Linked DNA regions of Homo sapiens: regions 2, 3 and 4 are each linked to region 1. Evidence: promoter capture Hi-C in 16 types of primary human blood cells and fetal thymus (Javierre and others, 2016). All regions are on one chromosome and are shown on one strand. The core of a region is centred on a gene start or on the middle of the fragment in contact, and the rest is flanking DNA. Distances in the headings are between cores, read along the strand shown.

The links. Contacts are between HindIII fragments. The CHiCAGO score rates a contact against its expected background, and 5 or more counts as called.
Region 2: a contact is called between a fragment that was not itself captured here and the fragment with the promoter of MC5R in region 1, in 2 of 17 cell types (endothelial precursors and erythroblasts). The highest score is 6.1, in endothelial precursors.
Region 3: a contact is called between a fragment that was not itself captured here and the fragment with the promoter of MC5R in region 1, in 3 of 17 cell types (endothelial precursors, erythroblasts and naive B cells). The highest score is 6.4, in endothelial precursors.
Region 4: a contact is called between a fragment that was not itself captured here and the fragment with the promoter of MC5R in region 1, in 6 of 17 cell types (erythroblasts, M0 macrophages, M2 macrophages and 3 more). The highest score is 14.9, in erythroblasts.

What each region holds. Positions count from the first base shown.
Region 1 is chr18:13,822,806-13,825,648 of GRCh38, forward strand. MC5R (melanocortin 5 receptor) reads left to right here and starts at 1,344. Exons shown (of 2, transcript NM_005913.3): 1 at 1,344-1,469. RefSeq lists silencers at 1,013-1,193, 1,159-1,448, 1,459-1,548. The HindIII fragment of the contact is 16,860 bases long and covers 1-2,843 here.
Region 2 is chr18:14,109,930-14,112,772 of GRCh38, forward strand. The region is part of intron 2 of ZNF519 (zinc finger protein 519); the gene reads right to left. Among named protein-coding and RNA genes, the nearest start is that of ZNF519, 21 kb to the right of the region's middle. The HindIII fragment of the contact is 2,012 bases long and covers 438-2,449 here.
Region 3 is chr18:13,555,275-13,558,117 of GRCh38, forward strand. The region is part of intron 4 of LDLRAD4 (low density lipoprotein receptor class A domain containing 4); the gene reads left to right. Among named protein-coding and RNA genes, the nearest start is that of MIR4526, 54 kb to the right of the region's middle. The HindIII fragment of the contact is 366 bases long and covers 1,324-1,689 here.
Region 4 is chr18:14,085,918-14,088,760 of GRCh38, forward strand. It overlaps a transcript of ZNF519 not described here. Among named protein-coding and RNA genes, the nearest start is that of ZNF519, 45 kb to the right of the region's middle. The HindIII fragment of the contact is 9,090 bases long and covers 1-2,843 here.

The DNA.
Region 1 (2,843 bases), core at 94-2,593:
ATCCCAGAGACCACTGTCCAGGAGAAACGGGGTGACAAGCCCTCTTTGAGCTCGGGAGCATTTTAATCAGTGCTCAAGAGGAAGAGAAAAGAAACAAAAAGTGCAACCAGCCAGAAAAACAACCAAGCAGCTACCCACCCAACCACCCATCCACCCACCCACTGACCCAACCAACCACTCCCCCACCCAACCACCTATCCATCCACCCACCGACCCAACCAACCAACCAACCAACCACCCACACAACCACCCATCCACCCAACCCACTGACCCAACCAACCAAACCAAGCAACCACCCACCCAACCACCCATCCACCCACCCACTGACCCAACCAACCTAGCAACCACTCACCCAACCACCCATCCATCCACCCACTGACCCAGCCAACCAACCAACCAACCAACCACCCTCCCAACCACCCATCCACCCACCCACTGACCCAACCAACCAACCAAGCAACCACCCACCCAACGACCCACCCACCCACCCACTGACCCAACCAACCAACCAAGCAACCACCCACCACCCACCCACCCACTGACCCAACCAACCAACCAAGCAACCACCCACCTACCCAACCAACCCCCACTTACCCAATCAACCAACCAAGCAACCATCCACTCACCCAACCAACCACCCACCCACCCAAGCAACCAATCAACGAACCAAGCAACCACCCACCTACCCAACCAACTACCCCCCACCCACCCAAGCAAGCGAGCAAGCGAGCAAGCAACCAAGTAACCATCTACTCACTCAACCAAGCAACCACCCACCTACCCAACCAACCAATCAACCAACCAAGCAACCACCCACCTACCCAACCAACCAATCAACCAACCAAGGAACCACCCACCTACCCAATCAACGAACCCCCCACCCAACCAGCCAAGCAACCAAGTAACCATCCACTCACCTAACCAATCAACCAATCAACCAATCAGGCAACCACCCACCTACCCAACTAACTAACCCGTAACCACCCAACCAACCAAGCAAGCAACCACCTGCTCACCCAACCAACCAATCACCAAACAAGCAACCACCCACCCACCCACTCAACCAACCAACTACCCAACCAAGCAACCACTCACCCAACCAACCATTCAACCGACCGACCGACCGACCGACCGACCCACCGACCCGACCGACCAACCAACCAACCAAGCAACCATCCAACCATTCAAGAGTGTGTTCGGGGGGATTTTCGCTCGGGGCTGACGCGGTTCTCTGGCCGCTGTGCCGTGCTGGGCCACTAGGTGGCAGCGGAGGCCGCCCGGAGCGACAGCCGGCGGTGCGGAGGCGGGCCCGGCGCGGGCAGGCAGGAGGCTTAAAGCCCCGCAGAGCCGCAGCCGCCTAGCTGGGGGAGAGGCCCGTCCGGGGCTGGCTCTGAGCGCCGCACGGCCGTCGGATCCCGGGGACGCCGGGGGCCCGGGCTGAGCGCCGCGGCCCGCGAGGAGGAGCACCGGTAAATAGCCACAACTTTCTATCTCCTTGAGATCCTGAGAATAAATGCAAAATCGCGCTTCCGCTGCATGTGGAAGTGAGCGGGGCGGCAGCTAGCTTGCCCCGTGAGTTTTTAACACAGCTCGATATGATGTTTAGTATAATTGCATAATTTACCGATATATCTGAGCTGGAACTCAGCTGTAACAAATGATTGTAGTTCAATAAATGCTTAGATTACCAATTTTTTCCTTTTTTATTTTTATAGATTTAGGGGGTACAGGTGCTGTTTTGTTATATGGATGTATTGCATAGTGGTGGAGACTGGGCTTTTAGTGTAGCCATCACCCCTATAGTGTACATTGTACCTATTAAGTAATTTGTTGTCCCTCACCCCCTCCCTCCCTCCCAAAGTGATTACAAATATTAATGATGACAGTGATGACAGAAATTCTCTCCAGATGTGATCTGAGTTTGGAGGGCAAAGGGATTTTTGAAAATGAATCATAAGAGAGAAATTTTGCAACAAAGGAGTGTGGTACATTTAAATTGCTGTTTTTTTTTTTAAATACTGTGCTCACGCGGACCTAATAAACTATCAAGCAGACCTCATGGAATTCCACATAATGCAGAAGCGAGGGAAAAATAGGTATTGAGGGAAAAGCAGCACTGTTTTCCTCAATTTTAACACGTATGTGCAGCCTACACTTACAAACTTAAGACAGTAGCTTTTAACATGTGACTTTGCTCAGGGTAACAGACCATTCTGGTTATAGCCTTACTTACAGCTGTGGAGGCTGAATCCTGATGGGTCTAAGAAGTGTCAGGACAAGTGTTAGGGATGCACCTGTCTGTCTGTCTTAAGGGAATACGGGTCTGGGCAGTCTTAAATCGGAGCTCCCTTGAGGAGAATGTCGTGCAGTAGCCTTAGGAATGTGAACATTGGGAGACTGGCTGGGATTTTGTAGGTTATGAGTTGGGGACACTTATGATAGTGAACTTGAGCCCAGGAGAGAAGCCATAAAAAGTGAAACTGTCCTGGGCACTTGGAGGTGAGTGTCTCTCTAGTAAGATGCATGTGAAAGGCTGGGAGCTGAAAGCAAGGAGAGCAGAAGAGGCTGGTGAAGATTCTAATCTGCGTGTCCAGGGGCACTCTTCCAGGTCTCAGGAACGCAGGTCAGAATGTGCAAGCCAGCTGCCGGGCACGTGGCTCACCCCTGTAGTACCAGCACTTTGGGAGGCTGAGAGAGAAGATCGCTTGTGGCCAGGAGTTTGAGACCAGACTGGGCAACATAGGGAGACCCTGTCTCTTAAAAAAAAAAAAAAAAAAGGACTGAGTGAGCCGAGCCCAGTCCTCTGATGCACTGTGTCATTCATCCCCTTTCTTAGGCTGTGT
Region 2 (2,843 bases), core at 194-2,693, 290 kb after region 1:
TTCAAATTATACTACAAAGCTATAGCTACCAAAACAGCATGGTATTGCTATTAAAATAGACACATAGACCAATGAAGCATAATAGAGAATCCAGAAATTAAGCCAAATACAGGCAACTCATCTTAACTAATAATCAACAAGGCATACAAATAAACAAATTGAGGAAACAACACCCTATTCAATAAACGGTGCTAGGAAAACTGGCAAGCCACACATAGAAGAATAAAACTGGATCCCCCATCTCTGACCGTATACAAAAATCAATTCAAGATGGATCAAAGATTTAAATCTAAGGCCTGAAAGCATACAAATTCTAAAAGGTAACATATAAAAAAACTCTTCTGGACATTGACTTAGGCAAAAAATTCATGACTAAGACCCCAAAAGCAAATGCAACAAAAACAAACATAAACAAATGGGACCTTATTAAACTAAAAAGCTTCTGCACAGCAAAAGAAATAATCAGCAGAGTACATAGACAACCCACAGAGTAGCAGAAAATATTTGCAAACTACGCACAAAAAGCTAGTATCCAGAATCTATACAGAACTCAAATAAATTAGCCAAATAATAATAATTCCATCAAAAAGTAGGCAGAGAAAATGAATATATATTTGTCAAAAGAAGACATACGAACACCGAACAATAATCTAAAAATGCTCAACATCACTAATCAGAGAAATACAAATGAAAACCACAATTAGATACCAACTTACTCCTACAAAAATAGCCATAATTCAAAAGTCAAGAAAACAACAGATGTTGGCATGGTTGTGGTGAAATGGGAACACTTAACAAATAAAATGTCATTTGCAGCAACTTGGATGGAGCTGAAGGCTATTATTCTAAGTGAAGTAACTCAGAAATGGAAAACTAGATATTGTATATTCTTATAAGTGAGAGCTAATCTACGAGGATGCAAAGGCATAAGAGTAATGTAATAGACTTTGGGGACTTGAGGGGGAAGGCTGGGAGGCGGGTGAGGGATAAAAGCTACATATTAAGTACAGTGTACACTGCTCGGGTGACAGGTGCACTAAAATCTCAGAAATTACACTAAAGAACTTATCTGTGTCACGAAAAACCACCTGTATTTCCAAAACCATTGAAAAAACCTAATGATGTATCTAGCAAACAAAGCCAAAATTAGAAGAAAAGAAATAATAAAGATCAAAGCAGAAATAAATGAATTTGAAATAAATAAAATACAAAAGGTCAATAAAATGCAAAGTTGTTTTCTAAAAAAAAAAAAAAAAAAACCTTTAGCCAGACTAAGAAAAAAAAAGAAAACTCAGCCAGGCACAGTGGCTCATGCCTGTAATCCCGGCACTTTAGGAGGCTAAGGCAGGGGGATCACCTGAAGTCAGGAGTTTAAGACCAGCCTGTCCAACATGGCGAAACCCCGTCTCTACTAAAAAATATAAAAATTAGCTGGGCACGGTGGCAGGCACCTGTAATCCCACCTACTTGGGAGGCTGAGGCAGGTAGAATTGCTGGAAGTCAGGAGAAGGAGGTTGCAGTGAGCCAAGATCAAGCCACTGCACCCCAGCCTGGGCGACAGAGTGAGACTCCTACTCAAAAAAAAGAAAAAAAAAAAAAAAGAAAGAAAGAAAAGAAAAAAGAAAAAAAGACTCAAATAAATAATAACAAAGATGAAAAAGGAGACATTTCAACTCTACAACTTATACTGCAGGAATTCAAGATCATTAGTGGCTGCTATGAGCAGATAGATGCCATAAATTGGAAAATCTAGAACAAATGGATAAATTTCTAGACACATAGAACCTAACAAGATTGAACTGTTAAGAAATCCAGAACCTGAATAGACAAACAAGACATGTTGAGATCCATAATAAAAAACCTCCTATGAGAGAAAAGCCTGAAATCTGATGGCTTCACTGAATTCGACCAAACATGTATAAAACTAATAGCAATCTGACTTAAACTATTCCAAAACAGAGGAGGAGGAAACACTTCCAACCTTGTTCTGTAAGGCAAGCATTACTCTCATACTAAAACCAGACAAACGCCTATCAAAAAAATCTATAGGCCAATATCAGCAATAGATGCAAAATTTCTAATAAAAATACTGGCAAGTAAAATTCAGCAACATATTAAAAAGATTATTATAGATGTAAAATTTCTAATAAAAATACTGGCAAGTAAAATTCAGCAACAGATTAAAAAGATTATTATACCTCATGATCAAGTAGGATTTATCTCAGGGATGCAAAGATACTTCAACATATGCAAATCAATTAATGTAATACATCATATCAACAAAAGAAAGAACAAAAACCAAGATCATTTTGATCCTGAAAATCATTTGATAAAATTTAATATCCCCTCATGACAGAAACCCTCAAAACTATAGAAGAAACATACCTCAACATATAAAAAGCTATATATGACACTCACATTATATGATACTAAATGGGGAAAAATGAAAAGCTTTTCCTAAGATTGAGAACATGACAAGGATGCACACTTTCACCACTGTTATTTCAACATATGGCAGCTAGAGCAATTAGACAAGAGAAAAAAATAAAGGGCAACCAAATTGGAAAGGAAGAAGTCAAATTAGCTTTGCTTGCAGATGATGTGCTCTTATATTTGGAAAATCCTAATTCACTAAAACACTATTAGAACTCATAAATTTAGTCAAGATATAGGATTAAAAAGCTAGCAGCATTTTTATATACCAACAGTGAACAATGTGAAAAAGAAATGAAGAGAGTAATCCCATTTACGATAGCCACAAATTAAAATAAAATACCTAGGAATTAACCAAAGAAATTAAAGATCTGTACAATGAACACTATAAAACATTGATGCAAGAAATT
Region 3 (2,843 bases), core at 257-2,756, 270 kb before region 1:
ATAATCAGCAAGAGGAAAGAATGTCATTCAGTGGAACCATTTAACCTCAGCACTATCTTTCTGCAGTAGTTGGGGATACATTTTAAGTCTGATTGCAAATAACACAGAAGTAAAATGAGTCACAGCCTACCTTCTCCCTCCTTCCCCTCATCTCTTACTCTTCTTTTTCTCTTTGTAGAAATGATTCAGCTGGTTTACTTTTGATTAAAGAGCTTATGTTCTCTTACCTATGGAATTCAATATTAGATAAATTGTTGATTTTCAGATCACTGTTTTCATTGTAAAATGGGCTAGAAAATGCAAACTATAAGTGTCTATTATTTGTTATTTAGCCCTATAAGGCATATAGCAGTTGCTACCCTAGGGTGCAAAGCAATGTGATCAGTTGGTTTTTGAGTTGAAAAATTACATGGTCTATCTCATTAAGTAAAGCCAGGTGTGTCTCAGAGAAACTCACTGTAATTAGTCAAAGACACAGAACTGCAGATGGAAAGAAGTTTATAAAGTATATAATAATTAAGGTATAGATGAGGAATAATTGGGACTTCTTGGATTATTACTTAGAGCTTGTTTGGGAGTTGTATTATTTTCTAAGAAGGCGGGAAAGCAGTTTGTGTGAATTATTCTTACCTTATTTTTAATAGCTTCATTGGTGTCTTCCTTGCAGCTTATTATAGAGAGAATGTGAATCTGTGGTAAGCATTAGATTTATTCTCCATCTAGCATGACCCAGATGGTAGTTTTGGAATGCATTCCTGCCCAAACTACTCGGAGTCACTGAGATTTATGATTTGTGAACTCATAAATTGGATAAATAAAACTCATCTTCTACAGCTTCAGTGTATGTTATTTTCTAGAGTTCATCGTGTCTGGAAACTTGATTTCAGTTAAGCTATGTATTAAGTACTTGGAATTTCTGAGTCTATTGCATTGTTGTTTCTAGGAGAGTGGGGAACTTTTTTTGGTGAACAGAGCTTACCTTCTTGTGACTGGTCATTGTCATTTCTACATGTTATCAGGAGGCCCTAGGGCCTTGCTGGAACAAGTACTTCTGAGTTGACAGAAATTGGATTGCTATAAACTCTGCTTTCAAGAGCCTTACCATCCAGTGAAGACACATGATTACCTGCAGTATATCTAAGTCTCTTTAATTGTGTGAAATTCATGGGTGAGGTTTAAGGTGGGTGCACAGGGAGAGTGAGGCTTGGTGCTTGGCTATGCCCGAATCCAGAGAGGCTTTTATAAAGAAAAATCATGAGCCCAGATCAAATAACCACATAGACCAAGGAGAGAGAAATAACTTCTGCCTTAGAGAACAAGGAAAGCTTCACAGAACAGGGAGTACTTAAGCCTGGTCTTTTGAGGATGATGTATTTGAGGGAAAGGGAGTGTCCATGGGTAAACAAAGACTTGCTAATGGGATACACGGGAATATGTTTGGAAAAGGCCATGATGGGGAGTGGTTGTCACTGGTTGTCCTTGTCCTTGTGCATCATATCAAGGGTATGTAGTTTAAACGTGATTTATAACTGCTGATGGTGACCTTGATCACCTGACTGAGGTGTATTAGGTTTCCTCACTGTCAAGTTGCTCTTTTCCCCCGTCTAAAGAGAACCACCCTTTAAAGGGTGATTAATGCTTTATAAAGGGTGATTAATAGATATTAGCAATGCATGGTGATGAAAACCAAGCTTGGACGTTACAGCACTTTCATCTGGCTTAAGGAGATAATAAGCACGGCCAGGCTCAGTGGCACACACCTGTAATCCCAACACTTTGGGATGCCAAGGCAGGAGGATCACTTGAGCCCAGGAGTTTGAGACCAGCCTAGCCAACACCGCAAACCCTATCTTTACAAAATTAAAAAAAAAAAATTAGTCAGGCATCATGGCACATGCCCATAGTCCTAGCTGCCCAGGAGGCTGAGCCAGGAGGATCACTTGAGCCCAGGAGTTCAAGCTTACAGTGAGCTATGATCACAACACTGTGCTCCAGCCTGGGTGACAGAGTGAGATCCTGTCTCAAAAGAAAATAAGCAAAAAACTAGACTTTGTCTTCACTTTGAACATGATCCTAACCTAAACTTGACCTTCTCAAACACTAGTGCCTAAGGATGGTTTCTTTAGACAAAGCCTTTTTTTTTTGAGATTGAGTCTCGCTCTTTCGCCCAAGCTGGGGCGCAGTGATGCGGTCTTGGCTCACTGCAAGCTCCGCCTCCCAGGTTCACGCCATTCTCCTGCCTCAGCCTCCCAAGTAGCTGGGACTACAGGCATGCGCTACCACACCCGGCTAATTTTTTATATTTTTAGTAGAGATGGGGTTTCACCGTGTTAGCCAGAATGGTCTCGATCTCCTGACCTCATGATCTGCCTACCTTGGCCTCCCAAAGTACTGTGATTACAGGCGTGAGCCACCACAGCCGGCCTAGACAAAGCTTTTTATAGGGAGACGAGAAATTGTTAAGAAGTGAGCTAAGAATTGTAAAACACTTAGTATGTGGCATTGTAATATATGTGTTATTGTCTGTTGTTACCATCATGATCATCACCATCATCACGTGCATTGAGTAGCTGAAGAACCTCGATACCAGACACCAGTATGTCCAAATTCTTGATGCCCAATCTCATTATTTTCACTTTGAATTTGAATTAGAAGTAAGTTGTTAAACAGGAACAAAATCTAATCATTTTTTCAAGGTACAAAAAAATTCCACATATTGAAATATAATGAATGGTTTTGCAAACTTTGATTGGCACTTTAAAAGGTGTTGGAGTAGGGCGCTCTGGGAAACTGCCTATTGATTGCACTGTTGTCAGTTTCTAAGCAACCATTGCCAAATTTAT
Region 4 (2,843 bases), core at 123-2,622, 260 kb after region 1:
CCACGAGCAAACCTCAGCAGTAGTCAGGGCGTATCAGCATGGGCCTGGGACACACTCCAGGGTTGTGCTGGCCCCAGTTTCCATTGGCTTTGGCCCGATCCAGCTAAGCATGAGTCTTGGTGGCCAAGGGACTGCCCTCACCATCCCTCTCTAAACCCTGGGCAGCACAGTGCAAAGAGTGACTCCACCCACTGGAGGGAAGGAAAGGAAAGAAACTAAGCACAGGGCTTTGCCTGGCAATGCAGTGCTGGCATACCATCGTGAAACCCAACACTGGGGAAGACTCAGTGGCCCCTGACCCAGGCTGGTCCCTGTGGACAGAGCCACTGGACTTGTCACAGTGCCAGGTGGAGACCAGCAGCCCTGGTGGCACAGTCTCATGTCCCAGCCCACATCACCACTGACTCTCTGCAGCAGCCTAGAGCCATGAATAAATCTCAGGGGCCGGAAAGCTGTAGCCGTGGAACTTGAGGATCCCCCTGCGCTGCGCTGGCCTCAGTGGCTTTGGGCATGATGTAGCATCATAGCAGCTGTGGTGGCCACAGGACTCCCTGTCTCATCCATGCCCCACTACAAGCAGCACAGCATGGAGACTGCTTCAGGGAAGCAAAGGAAAGCAGGCACATGTGGCCTTGCAGCCCAGTGCTGAGCTCACTACAGAGATCCAGCCCTGGGCACAGCCCTGCAGTGCTTGACCCCAACCTGGGGACCGTAAACAGAACCCCTGGAGCTGTTCCGGCCCCAGGCAGAAACGTGCAAACCCAGTGGGATGAAATACACTCTGTAAGCCCCGCTCTAGTCCTTCCAGGCCAGAACGACAAAGCAACTTTGGATATGTGGCAAATCCAGGCTTAGAGCGCCCTCTAATGCTAAAAAAGCAGCAGTGACCACAGTTGAAAAATGTAATGAACCAAATAAAAAATACCAGCAGAATCAATCAATCAAACAGAAAAAAGAATCAATGAGCTCAAAGACAGGCTTTTTGAAAAGATATCAAATCAGACAAGGACATAACAACAACAACAAAATTACAGGACTATTTCCCTGAAGAATATAGATGCAAAAATCCTCACAAAATACTAGCCAACTAAATCCCATTGCACATCGTGAAGATTATTCACCAAGATCAAGTAGAATTCATCCCAGAAATATAAAGATGGTTCAACATATGCAAATCAATAAAGGTGATACATCAGATTAATGGAACGAAGGACAAAAACCATACGCTCATCTCATTAGATAAAAACTGTCAACAGATTGGGTATAGAAGAAATATACCTCAATATAATAAAGGCCATATATAACAGAACCATCATACTGAATGGGAAAAGCTGGATGTTTTCTCTCTAAGATCTGACACAAGATAAGGATGCTTATGTTTACCATTTTTATTCAATGTAGTACTGAAAGTCCTAGCCAGACCAATCAGGTAAGAAAAAGAAATAAAAGGCACAGCTGCATAGCTACTTTTGTGTTAATATATTATTTTTATTAGAAAATATATTTTGGTGAATGTGAAAATTTTATAAAAGTGAGCTCCTATCAGTGTACACTCTAAAAACCATGCTTCATTCCATCTTACCTGAACTGTAACCCACTGTTTATGGGACTTGGGTGACAAAATCCCAAGTCTTCAATATCAGCCAGATAACACAGGCAGAACTTCCTCAAATAAAACTCTTAGGAGCTACTGATGTTGCCATGATTAAAGGAGAAGAAAGGGATGGGTCATTTGTTTTCTCATTTGCAACATGATCATAAAAAATGTGTGCGTCCTTGTGTTGGATGTTTAAATCGTATCATTTATGTACATCACTTACTGATGTGCTTACATTTGAAAACATAAAAAGAGCATAGCTTGGTTTGTCATTATCATATAGGTCAACAATACCATCATTGTCATCACCATCATTATATTTTGTACATTAAAGTAAAAATGGACAAAAAGGATCTGGGAGGTGAGATTGACCATGCATTGTGTGAACAGATTATGGATGTGAGTACACTGGACAACATGCCCCACCTTGTAGCAAAATTCTGTCTGGAAAACAAGGAATGGAACTATGTAGAGAGAGCTGGCACACTCAGAGAAAGCAAGATCATCACCAATTAGATGTCAGTGCTATTTACAGAGATATTGAAACCTATGGACTCCAGGAGGATAGAGAAACTTCAGGAACATTTGGGTAATGGGTGGCTGCTATTACTTAACACCTATGTGACAATTATCCCGTTTTAGCAAATGGAAAGTACAGCTTAGGATGCTTGTTTGCCTCTAGCATGTTTATAGTATCAAGACATTTGAATCTTTTTTCAGGAAAATCAGAAGAGAAAGTCTTGTTCCAAAGTAAAGAATTAGAAAAACTCGGAGTAGCTTCATCACATATAAAAAGCTGCCTTGACTGCGAAACCCAAGCAGTCCTGCACCATAGTCAGTTCCCCTGATCAATAACAAAACAAGGGGAAAGTCTGGTTTTCTTGCTGAAGAGATTTCACTTTACCATCATATTCTTTGTAGCTTAGCAACAAGAAAATGTGATTTGTTCATATTTTATTGTTCATGGCTAAGTGCATATGATACAGGTTGAGAAAAAAATTAAAACCCAAGCACAGAGATCAGGACCACATAAGGTTCAAAATTCCTTAAATTTCATTCTAGTTAAAAATGAGTTCTGGCATATCCATCCCTTATCAAAGAAAAGATAAAAGTTGTCTTAAATGAATAATATATGGAGTAAAAATTAAAGGAGACAAATATACTTATAACTGCTTAATTCTGAGAAATGATAATCTTATATCCAAGGAATTGAAACGGTGAAATCACCATAATTACTTTAATTTCT